Linked DNA regions of Homo sapiens: region 1 is linked to region 2. The links are contacts of gene promoters, found by promoter capture Hi-C in human tissues and cell types (Jung and others, 2019). All regions are on one chromosome and are shown on one strand. Each heading gives the region's core, a stretch centred on a gene start or on the middle of the fragment in contact. The rest is flanking DNA. Distances are from core to core; before and after follow the strand shown. Region 1 overlaps LOC105377183 (a long non-coding RNA gene). Region 2 holds the start of GBE1 (1,4-alpha-glucan branching enzyme 1).

What was found. Contacts are between HindIII fragments. The study calls those that stand out against the background at their distance.
Region 1: a fragment that was not itself captured here is called in contact with the fragment with the promoter of GBE1 in region 2 in 1 of the 25 tissues and cell types used here (dorsolateral prefrontal cortex).

Annotation. Positions count from the first base shown.
Region 1 is chr3:83,438,668-83,445,501 of GRCh38, forward strand. All of the region lies in intron 2 of LOC105377183 (a long non-coding RNA gene), which reads left to right. Among named protein-coding and RNA genes, the nearest start is that of LINC00971, 1.4 Mb to the right of the region's middle. The HindIII fragment of the contact is 4,615 bases long and covers 1,489-6,103 here.
Region 2 is chr3:81,758,564-81,764,828 of GRCh38, forward strand. It overlaps GBE1 (1,4-alpha-glucan branching enzyme 1), which reads right to left and starts at 3,082. Exons shown (of 16, transcript NM_000158.4): 1 at 2,812-3,082. The coding sequence starts at 2,954. RefSeq lists silencers at 1-49, 2,631-2,710, 3,211-3,310 and enhancers at 2,361-2,530, 2,871-3,160, 2,947-3,555. The HindIII fragment of the contact is 8,733 bases long and covers 1-5,998 here.

The DNA of each region.
Region 1 (6,834 bases), core at 2,546-5,045, 1.7 Mb after region 2:
TACCAACTTGTAACTTTGTACATTTCCAGGGATGTAAAATTGTGGAGGTTTTCTTGGCAATATTTGCCAGTTTTTAACTTGTATTCTTGGATGGGGGGAGACAATTTGCCAATATCTACTGTCTATTATAGCTAGAAATTAAAAGTCTACTTGATGTGTTTGATGCTATTTTAAATATTATTTTAAATTTTCTTTTTTGTTGTTGTTACTTTTATTAATGCTATTTAGAAATGCCATTAATTTTTAATAATGTAATATCAAGTAAGGTTGTTTAATTTAGTTTTTCATGCTAATATTTCTTTTGTAGGCTTTTCTAGATTGTGTACTTGCACAGTCATATGACCATGAGTAATGGCAAGGTTATTTCACTTTATTCAATCTCATTCATTTCCTTTTCTTGCATTTTAGACCATTTAACTTATCAAGTATGACTTTGAATTGAATTAGTGATAACAAGTATCTTTGTCACATTTTTGTTCTTAGAGGGAAATAATTAATACGTTATATCAAATTAAGAATGCCTTATTAGGGGAGTGTGAGGAAGATGGTGGATAGGAGACAGGGCTAATATACAGCTTCCACTTGAACAGAAAGAACAATGTGTGGAGACTCACACCATGAACTTTTGCTTGAAGAACCACTGCAGGAATATACCAGAAAAAAAAAAAAAAAAGAATTCACAAATCCTTTGAAAAAAGTGGCATACTGCTGCAAGTTTCATGAGACAGGAGAAAAATGTGAGTTCTAAAAGTGTGAGGGGGGAATCTACCTTTGAACACACATCCTCACTGGGAATCTAAAAATCCACATCATTGGAGAAGGATTTAATCTGTAATAGAGCTCAAGTGAATATAAAGAGCTGCACAAAATACAAAAGTAGAAGCAGCAGTGGGAAGAGTATTATAGTCATTCCCAGTCTCCAGCTTGAGACCAGGAAAGCCATCTCTGACTATACCTCACATGGACCCTCAGGGAAGGCAGCCAGCAGAATTCAAAAAAGGGTTCCAGGATAAAAGAAGTTTCCAACTGAAATTTGTAACAATTTCTACTGGGCACAATTTTTCTTGAGAAGAATCTGGAGCGTGAATGGGAATTACTTCAGATATGAATACAGGAGCCTCTGCCATCAGATCTGCCCAGTGTGGGCAGATGGGGAGGGTCAAGGCCTGAAATCCATGCTTGCTTTCTTAGTGGTGAAGCTTAAGGCCTGGGGCAAGGTCTAAGCAGGGGACTGCAGGAGCAAGACCAGCCTCGCCAACTGCGTGGGAACTGGGTGAGGACCTTTGCTCCTGGCTATCCCCCAGTTCTCTGGAAAACTATATGACACAGCAGAGACAGCCATAATCCCATCTGGAACATACCCCACTGGCCTGAGAACCACCCCCATAAGAGTGGCTGCAACAAGCCCCACTCAAGAAGAGTCTGAACCCAGACCCACCCAACCCTGCTACCATCTGATAGCCCTGGTAGCCAAACACAAAAGACATAAACTCTTTGGAGCTTTATGGCCCTGCCCATCACCTGAGAAACTAGATTACTTACCCTAACCAACTTAGTGCAAGTTTACATCCCTCTAATACTACCACAGCTGGTGCTCTCTTGAAGGCACCACCTCCTGGCAGGAGACCAACCAACTCAGGCCATCACAGCAATGCATGACAGAATAACGCTGCTCCCAGGAAAGAGAAAACAACAGCTAGTTCCACTGCCTGCAAAATCCTGGCTAACCAGAGTTCCTGAGTTTGTCCATGTGACAACGTCACTGCTAGCATAACAAGCTTTTGAGAAAGCCAGCATGCTAAACATTTCTACAACCAAGAATTCTCACAGAGTCTACTTCACTCTCCTGACACTTCCACCAGAGCAGGTGCTGATAACCACAGCTGGGAGACCTGAAGATGGATCACATCACAGGACTCTGCAGACATTCCCCAGCACCAGCCCAGAGTCTGATAACCCTGCTGGGTGGTCAGACCCAGAAAAGCAATAACAATCACTGCAGTCTGTCTCTCAGGAAGCCCCATTCCTAGAGGAAGGGGTAGAGCAACATATCAAGGGATCCCCCCTTGGGACAAAAGAATCTGAAGAGCAGGCTTTGAGTTCCAGATCTTTCTGCTGAAATAGTCTACCCAAATGAGAAGAAAATAGAAAAGTAATTCTGGTAATGTGACAAAACAGGGTCCGATAACACCCCCAAAAGATCACACTAGCTCCCCAGCAATGGATCTAAGCCAAGAAGAAATATCTGAATTGCCAGATATATATAGAAAGTTGATTATTAAGCTACTCAAGCAGATACCAGAGAAAGGTTAAAAAAGCAACTTAAAGAAATTAAGAGAAATACAGGATATGGATGAAAAATCCTCCAGAGAAATAGATATCATAAAGAAAAAAAAAATCACAACTTCTGGAGATAAAAGACACACTTAGAGAAATGTAAAGTGGACTGGAAAGTTTCGACAATAAACTAGAACAACAAGAAGAAAGAGCTTCAGAACTCAAAGACAAAGCTTCTGAATTAACCCAATCAGATGAAGACAAAGAAAAAGGAATCCACCCCCCACCAGAAAAAAAAGAACAAAGTCCCCAAGAAATTTGGGATTATGTGAAATGGCCAACCCTAAGAATAATTGGTTTTCCTGAAGAAGAAGAGAAATCTAAGATTTCTGTAAGTTTGGAAAACTTACTTGAAGGAATAATAGACGAAAACTTTCCTGGTCTTGCTAGAGAGATAGCCATCTAAATATAAGAAACTCACGGAACACCTGGAGAATTTACCACAAAAAGATCATCACCTTAGCACATAGTCCTCAGGTTATCTAATGTCAAAATGAAGGAAAGAATTTTAAGAGCAGTGAGAAAAAAGCATCAGTTTACCTGATTAACAGCGGATTTATCAGCAGAAAACTTACAAGCCAGAAGGGATTGGGGTCCTATCTTTAGCCTCCTGAAACAAAATAATTGCCAATTAAGAATTTTTTTCCAGCAAAATTAAGCTTTATAAATGAAGGAGCAATAGTCTTTTTAAGACAAACGAATGCTGAGAAAATTTGCCACTATCAAGCCAGCGCTACAATAACTGCTAAAAGGAGTTCTAAATCTTAAAACAAAACCATAAAATACACCAAAATAGGACCTCTTTAACCATAAATCTCACATGTTCTATAAAACAATAACACAATGAAAAAAATTAAAAAAAAGATATTAAAGCAACAATTAACATGATTAATAGAACGGTGCCTCACATCTCAATACTAACATTAAATGTAAATGGCTTAAATGCTCCACTTAAAAAATACAGAATGGTAGAATGGATGAAAATCCACCAACCAAGTATCTGCTAACTTCCAGTGTCTCACCTAACCCATAAGGACTCACACAAATTTAAGGTAAAGGCATGGTAAAAGATATTCCACATAAATGGAAACCTAAAGTAAGCAGGAGTAACTATTCTTATATCAGTCGAAACAGACTTTAAGGCAACAACGGTAAAAAAGATGAAGAGAGACATTATATAGTGATAAAAGCATTAGTTCAACAGGAAAATATCACAATTCTAAACATGTGTGCATTCACAATTCTAAACGTATGCATGTAACACTGGAGTCCACAAATTTTAAAACAATCACTAGTAGAGTTAAGAAATCAGATAGCAAAACAATAGTAGTGTGGAACATCAATACTCCACTGACAGCACTAGACGTTTCATCAAGTCAAATTTAACAAAAAACAATGGACTTAAACTACACCCTTGAAAAAAATGGACTCAACAGATATTTCCAGAACATTCTACCCAACAACTGAAGACTACACATGCTTTTCATCAGCACATGGAACATTCTCCAAGATAGGCCAGATGATAGGTCACAAAACAAGCCTCAAAATTTAAGAAAACTGAAAATATGTCAAGTATCCTCTCAGACTACAGTGGAATAAAAGTGGAAATTTACTCCAAAGGAAATCCTGAAAACTATACAAATACATGAATATTAAACAATGTACTCTTGAATGATCTTTGGATCAACAATAAAATCAAGATGAAACTGTAAAAATTATTTAAACTGAATAAGAGTGACACAACTTATCACAACCTCTGGGATATAGAAAAAGCAGTGCTAGCCTACATCAAAGAAACTGAAAGAGCACAAATAGATAACCTAAAGTCACACCTCAAGGAACTAGAGAAACAAGAACAAACCAAACCCAAACCCAGCAGAAGAAAAGAAGTAACAAAAATCAGAGTAGAACTAAATGAAATTGAAACAAAATAATACAAAATATAAATGAAACAAAAAGCTAGTTCGTCAAAAAGATAAATAAAATTCATAAACAACAGCATATAAAAAAGATAATATGCCAGGATCAAGTGAGTTTCATATCAGGGATGCAGGGTTTGTTTAACATATGCAAGTCAATAAATGTAATACATTAGATAAACAATTAAAAACAAAAACCATATGATCATCTCAATAGATGCAGAAAAAGCATTTAGTGAAATCCAGCATCCCTTTATGATTAAAACATCCAGCAAAATTGGCATTGAAAGAACTTACCTCAAGGTTAATAAAAGCCATTCATGGCAAACCCATGGCCAACATTATGCTGAATGAAGATAAGTTGAAGGCATTACACCTGAAAAATGGAAGAAAACAAGGATGCCCTGTTTCACTACACCTATTCAACATAGACCTGGAAGGCCTAGCAAGAGCAGTCACATAAGGGAAATAAATAAAAGGCATCCAAATTGGCAAAGAGGAAGTTAAATTGTCACTGTTTACTAATGATAAGATCATACTGAGAAAAATCCTAAAGACTCCTCCCAAAGACTCCTAAATCTGATAAATAAATTCAGTAAAGTTGCAGGATACAAAATCAATGTACACAAATCAGTAGCACTGCTATACATCAACAACAATCAAGCTCAGAATCAAATCAAGAAGTCATTCCCTTTACAACAGCTGCAAAAAATAAAATAAAATACTTAGGAATATACCCAAGCAAGGAAGTAAGAGATCTCTACAAAGAAAACTACAAAACATTGCTGAAAAAAATAATCTATGACACAAACAAGTGGAAACACATCCCATGCCCATGGATGGGTAGAATCAATATTGTGAAAATGACCACACTGTCAAAAACAATCTAAAGATTCAATGCAATTCTCATAAAACTACCATCATCACTCTTCACAGACATAGAAAAAAACAGTCTTAAAATTCATATGGAACATAAAAAAAAAGAACCCTCATAGCCAAAGCCAGACTAAGCCAGAACAAATCTGGAGGGAGGAATTGCATTACCCAACTTCAAATATACTGCAAGGCTATAGTTACCAAAACAGCATGGTACTGGTATATAAATTGGCACATAGACCAATGGAACAGAATGGATAACCAAGAAATAAAGCCAAATTTAGCCAAAGGATCTTCAATGAAGGAAACAATACCATAAAGTGGGTGCTGGGGTAATTGGCAAGCCACATGTAGAAGAATGAAACTGGATCCTCATCTCTCACCTTACCAAAAATCTACTCAAGATGGATCAAACACTTAAATCTAAGATCTAAATCCATAAAAATTCTAGAAGATAACATCAGAAAAACCCTTCTAGACATTGGCTTAGGCAGAGACTTCATGACCAAGAACCCAAAAGCAAGTACCACAAAAACAAAAATAAATAGTGTACATCCTCATTGTCTTCATGTTAAGTAGGCTGAGCAGAAGAGGAACAGAAGGGGATTGGTCCTCCTATCTCAAGGGTGGCAGAGATGGAAGAAAACTTATGTATAATGGGACTTGTGCAGCTCAAGCTTGTGTTGTTCAAGGATCAACTAAATATTATTTTGGTAATTAAATTTATGTTGAGTTTTATAGAATGATTCTCTCATCAGATAGTCATATTTTTTCTTTGTATTAATGTGTATATTTATTTCGTTGTTTTTATTGAAATAAGATTGCATTACTCAGTTAAGTCGTACTTGTTTATGAAGTTTTGAATATCTTGTAATTTTATGTATTTGATTCTTTATTATTATTTTTTAAATTTCAGATTCTATATTTGTGAGAGAAATGGTCCTGTTATCATCTTTTTATTGTGTACCTTTATTAGAGTTTTGGCATCAAGATTCTATGGGTCTCATAAAATAGTTGAAAAATTGTAATACATGGAAGAGTTATTAAAAACTACTACAATTTTTTTTTCTCTTAAATGAATGGATGAATTCAACCAACAAAACCATGTGGGCCTAGAGATTTTTTTGTGGGAAGGTTTTCAACTGAAAGTTTATTTTGCTTATTGGGTATGGACTATAGTGGATTTGTGTTTATTCTTGTGTTCATTTGGTAAGTTCTGTTTTATTATGAATTTTTATCTTTTTCATCTAAGTGTATTTAATAAGCTTTTTCATAGTATCTTCATTATCTGTTTAACATTTGACACATAGTTGATACTTCAGTGTCTACTAAGGAAGTTATTGATATACACTAATCTGAATATAACATTTCAGATTAATAACAAGTTCTTAAAAAAATAAATGAAAGGCAAAAATATACTGAAAAGTCTTGCTATTCTGAGATATAATCATATATGTAACTAGATCTTCAATTTTTCAAATTTTCCTATAAAATTTTACATGTTTTAATTTCTTTTTTTTTTTTATTATACTTTAAGTTTTAGGGTACATGTGCACATTGTGCAGGTTAGTTACATATGTATACATGTGCCGTGCTGGTGCACTGCACCCACTAACTCGTCATCTAGCATTAGGTATATCTCCCAATGCTATCCCTCCCCCCTACCCCCACCCCGCCACAGTCCCCAGAGTGTGATATTCCC
Region 2 (6,265 bases), core at 1,832-4,331:
ATGTAATATGGGAACAATTAAATGTTGTTTTAAAGCACTAAGATTTTGGAATTATAACAACTAATTGTAGTGTAACAACAAGTAAATAACTAAATAAAAGGTAGAAAAATCAAGTGGAAAATGCTATTTTGGGAGGTCATCAATGAGACAACATGGAGGTGGTCAGTCATGCTAATAATGTACTAATTTTTATTTTATAGCAGAGTAACTCATTAATCCTCTACACTTGATTCAAAATTCTCACAGGTACAGAAGGTGAAAAGAACAACTAATGAAGGTGATATGGTTTGGTTGTGTCCCCACTCAGATCTCATCTTGAATTCCCACGTGTTGTGGGAGGGACCTGATGGGAGGTAACTGAATCATGGGGGCAGGTCTTTCCCACGCTGTTCTCCTGATAGTAAGTAAGTCTCACGAGACCTGATGGTTTTAAAAAGGGGAGTTTCCCTGCACAAGCTCTCTTCTCTTGTCTGCCACCATGTGAGACATGACTTTCACCTTCTGCCATGATTGCGAGGCATCCTCAGCCACTTGGAACTGTAAGTCCAATAAACCTCTTCCTTTTGTAAATTGCCCAGTCTCAGGTATGTCTTTATCAGCAGCATGAAAACGGACTAATACAGAAGGGGAAAAGGCCAAGGTAAAGAAGGGAAGGAACATCCAAAACATCCTAAGGGAACATCCAAAAAATTTCAAATCAAAAGATATCTGTTGGGGAAGGATGAGACAGTCCATCAAAGAGAAATTTCCTTCTTCATCACCTTAATTATATACTGTTGTTTGTACCTCAAATTTTCTTCACTCCTTAGTAAGCATACTTTGCACCTAAGTGTTTGACTGGTTATGTATTTGTGTTAGGCCAAAGACACACAGTCCAAATGGATTATCAGAAATAAATGGAAAATTGGACAAGGAACTAAGACCAGATTGTATGAAGGAAAAATGTTTTATTCTTCAAGTGTTAACAATAGAAGTTACCACTAACAAATGCCAAATTACTATTTGATATGCCTAAATGGAACATGTATGCTAGCAAATGGCCATTACTCAGAACCAAGGACAAAAGTAAAATCCGGGTCAGAGTGAGGCATGAGGGCCCACTGGACGAGACTTTTCACCAAGCACACTGGATTCTCTTCCCTTCTTTATCTTGGCCTTTGTTCCCTTCATTAGTTTTGGCAAACCATGAAAGAAGATTATAAATGCTTCAATCCCAGTGGAGTTGGAAATAAAGTACATGAAAGAAACACTTAATAAAGAATGTTAATCTGTTTGTGTCATTTAAAAAAAAAAGGAAGGGGGTGTAGATAAAACATTTCCACAACTCTTCTTTAATAAATATCTTAAGTGTCCTTTTACAAAGCACACAGGTAAATTAATGTCATGGTTACAAGGACATCAAAAAAAAAATCTAACCACTACCTTTAATCACTATCTTTTGTTCTAAATTTTTTCTGACTATTTCTAAATCAAATCCAACCTTAAACCTATGACGATTATGCACTAAGTTTCTCTGAAAGCATATACTGTAAATTCTGAAAACAATTTCACAAGGCTGCTCCTCATATGGTTTATATAAGAGCATAATCATCTGATTAAGTGAGGGACAGCTCAAGGTGATTATTTTACAGAGGCCTCATTCACTACTATATACAAGCTCAAGAATGAAACTTCACATCCCTTACAATCCCTAGAGCAGTGTTTTATTTATAGGAGTTCCTCAATAAACACTTGCTGATTTGAATGCATTTAATACCTGAAAATGCTAGGACACAAACAATTTGCTGGGCTTTTTTCAAACTCCAAATCAACCCATTTTCATTACTCTCAACGCTCCTTCATGCCAGTTAACTAGTTGGATGTTTTCCATCACTCGAAAAATTGGCCATGTATATTCTGTTGCCAGGATAGTTTCCATTCTGCAGTGTCTCTCCTAAAAGGGGAGAAACTATTAAATCAAAATGGGGTAACCTCACAAGTATAACTATTACAACTTGTATAATAGCTCTTTTACTTCAAACAACAACGACAACAGAAAAAGACCTGTACCTTTTTAGTGGAACTTATGAATAGAATTATTAGCCCAGTAACTAAAGTTGTATGGTACACAATGGTAGAAGACAAGCTAAAACGACATTGGCCTGTAAAAGTTGCTTTCCTGACCTTTCTCCCTCTTCAAGATGGTTAAAGTCACACACGGACAAATGTTGATGTACATTTAACTTCTCAATGTTGATCCAAGGGGAGAAAAAATTGATCAATGTAGGTGTAATCTTCCCCTAAATGAGGAATATTAGCAAGGAAAAAACAAAAGGATATAGTGTCTGCCTGAAGGAATCCTCTTAGATATAAAATCACAACATTTGCTATGAAATAAACTAGAAAGTTTTAAATGCGTAATTACACGTGCCAGGAGTTATGCCCACGTTACTCCACAGGCCCACGCTAGTGGGTGCCAAAGTCAGAAAACCTGCAGCGGCGGTGAGTCACTCCCCAGCAGCACTCTGGGGAATAAGTGTTGGAGCCACAGCACGTACCCTATGGCGCAAGACCGCTGATTAGAACAGAGGGGAAAGGGGATGAGGAAAGAAGTTTCTTCAGCGCCCGCTCCGGGCACCAGCGCTGTCAAACCTGCCACTACGGAAGCCACAGAACCCGGTTACCCGAGTCACCCCGAGCCCCGCCCACTCAGGTTCCTCCCCGCCTGGGGCGGGGTTGGCGCGCGAGGGCCGAGGGGCGGCCCGTGTCCCGAGACGGCTCCTGGGAGGCGGGCTGCCTGTCTAAGTGGGGGTGGTGGGATTCCGGCGGTACCTGCGCTGGAAGTCCACGGCGTAGGGCTTCAAGTACGGGTCGATCTCCAGGAGTCTGGCCAGTTCGGGCACGTCAGCCAGGGCGGCATTGAGCGCCGCCTCGTAGTCCTCGGGCCGAGCCGCGGGAGTCATCGGAGCCGCCATATTCCGCCGCAGTCCAAGTAGCCGAGGCCCGAGAGGTCGAGTGGGGCCTGAGCGGGCGCTGGAGCTCTAGCTGGGACGCGGCGGCTAGGGCGGAGCCGGAGGGCGCCTAGGCGTGTCGAGGCAAGCCGAGGCGAGCCGCGGCGGTCCGGGGCCCTTTATAGCCGGGACGGAAGGCCTCCTGCCCTTTCTCCCCCCGCCAGCGGGGAGGAGCGGATCCCGGGGTGATGCCGGGACGCACGTCCGGAGCGGGTAGGAGGCACCGAGGCCTCTCCGCCCACTCACGCGGCTGGCACCTGGAGGCCGCAGGGACCTGCCCTTTCCTCCCCTTAACGGTTTTTTCCTGCTGGCGGAGGTCATTCTAGGAGGTGGGTCCCAAGCTGACCTCGCTCAGCCTTGGCCTTCCTCACCCTGACATATTCTTGGCTTTTCTTTACCCACTTAAGCACCCACTGACAGCGACCCCTTCAAATTGGACATAAGGGGTTTTTTTGGAAAGGACCGTATTTCTCAAAGTTCTGAGACTTTTGAGGGGCAGTATTTCAAACATATCATGTAAATTCACAGAGAGGGGAACAGTCAAGTGTAGCTAGAGTACTACTGCTGAAAATGTTAATACCTCTTACAACCAGGACTCTCCTAAGTTTGCCAGGTCACGTGAATTTAAAATTAACCAAGACACAGAATCCTGGAATACCGTTGGAATTCTGCTGTTCTGGTACTCTTTTCTGCATTACCAACAGCTAAGAATTTTAGCCATGGGAAGAACTTTTCTCATTCTCCGTAAGGCCAAAAAGGAAAAGGCATTTGCCTGTGTTTATAATTGTTAACAAGCTTTTCAACGATTAAACTACCTTTGATAACACAAATGATATCATTGAATTGGAACTCCACTCTGCCACTTACAGTGATAAGGCAAGAAACCTCTCTTCCTCTTGGCTTGGGAAGCTCCCACTTGGAATTCCCTTCTTTTATTGCCATTAACTGACTAGCTTCTATTTCAATAATTGCTTTTTAGGAATACAGAGTTGGACTCCAAGAGAGATGGACCCACCAAACCCAGGAGGGTCCAAGCTGCTTTACACCTAGAAACTAGAGAGGATTGAGGATATTTTTCTTGTTAAAACCCAGAACTGGAGGATCCTAGGGGTTATGGAGGAGAAACAGTATTAATCAGCCGTGGGCCTTGAATTTTAAAATATTTCAAAGGAAAGTTTTTATAAGGGGTTTCATAGACTTGAAAGATAAGTGGATATGAAGACAGACCTCAGTGTGAAAAAGTGAAGGACTTGAACGACTTTAAGACGTGCCTTGTTTTCCATAAAGATGACAAAAAACTGCTGCAGACATTTGTAAAATATAAAGCACTAAAAAAGGAAGAAAATTAAAAAAAAATAAAAACCCGAAGCAGGACAACTATTAATAACAGACCCACAGATCTACATCTCCAAGCCTAAACTTTTTTCAGAAACCCAGGCTTGTATCACTGCCTGTCTACTGAGATTTCCATTTAGCTGGCTAGGAGACCTAAACAAACTGTCTGCAAAACGTGACCTAGAATCCGTCTTCTCATCCTTCCTGCTGTCACTCTTATGCAGGCCACTGTTTTCCTTCACTTGGACCAGAATGTAGCTCTCTAACTGACTTCCCCTCTTCTACTCTTTCTCACCTCTACTCCATTCTCTGTACCAGTGTTTCTCACACTTTAATGTGCATATGAATCACCTAGGGATCTTAATTGAGTTCCGATGTGGTGCTTCAGATTGCATTTTTAACAAGCTCAGAAGTGATTCTGATGCTGGTGGTTGGGGACACAGTTTGGTGAGACTCTACACTGAGTAAATCAGACGATGTCATTTAGCAACTTAAATAGCATAGTATTTCACTTAGGGTAAAATAGAAACAGCTTATCATTCTCTAACAAGGCTTGTATAATCTGGACCCTGACTACCTTTCCAGCCACTTTTCTCATCATTTTCCAGTTTTACTATGCTCTAGTCACACTGACTTTCCTGGAACTCAGTGAATTTGTTGTATAATAGCCTCTAAGATTATTTGCTTGCTGTTCTCTCTGTTGGAAATTTTCAGGGAGCTGAGCTCTACTTGCTTAATTTTTTCCAAGCCTTCATTCCAGCCTCAGCAAAAATGTCACCTCATACCTGAGAAACTTCTGATTATAGACTCCTCAGTGTCTTCTGTATAACTTCAATCTCTTCTATGCAACAGTTAACAGAATCTAGGTGTTTGTTTTTCTCCTATTTATTGACCTTTCCCTTTAGAACCTAAGCTCCCCACGAGCACGATCCTAGCGTACATATCTGCCTACCTAGGTGGTTCACCATTGAGCACATATTTATTGAAGTCCCATGTGCCGGCCATTTTCCCACGTACTGTGGATAAATGATAAGACAAGTCCCAGTTGTCATACTCTATTGGGGGTAGGAGGGAGAGGAGACACAATTACCAGTGAAATACATAAAATAATACAAAACAATGTCAGATAGTGGTAAGTGCATTGTCGAGAATTAAAACTGAGCAAATATCTGTGTTAGTTCCGGTCGTCAAGAAAGGCCGTTCAGAACTGACATTTAAGCTGAAGTGTGATGACAAGAAGAAATGAGCCATGAGAGGAAGAGCATTCCAGAATGGCAGAGTTCGTGCAATGGAGGAATTGAATTGGTCTTTTAAAAAAAAAAAAAAATCTAGCATACCCGGTGTGTAATGAGGAGTGGCAGGAATTGTGGTGCAAGAGCTAGGCAGCTGTTCGTTCATATAGGCCCTTTAATGTCCATTTAAGGGATGCTATTGGAGAGTTTTCAGCAGAACACTGATATGATATGGTTTAATTATTAAAATATTCTATGTGGCAAATGAATTATAAGGATACAAGAATGGCAATAGGGGTGCCATTCTTGTGGGAGACAAGGGAGACAATTAGGAGGTGATTAACATTGCCTAGGCATGAAATGATGATGGCTTGGTCTGGGGTAGCAGATAAAATGATGAAATAAAGATTTGGGATGCATGATATAATGAATGCCTAAACTATTATGAAGTCATTTAGTGTCTGTATTAGTTACCTAGGGCTGTAGTGATTAAGTACCACACACTAGGTAATTTAAGCAACAAAAATTTGTCACCTTACCCTAGTTCTAGGGGCTAAAAATCAAGGTGTCCACAGGTTTGGTTCTTTCTGGGGGCTCTGAAGGAGAATTATTCCATGCCTCTCTCCTAGCTTCTGGTGATGGCCAGCAATCTTTGGCATTTCTTGGCTTATAGTTGCATCATTTGGATCTCTGCCTCCATTGTGACAT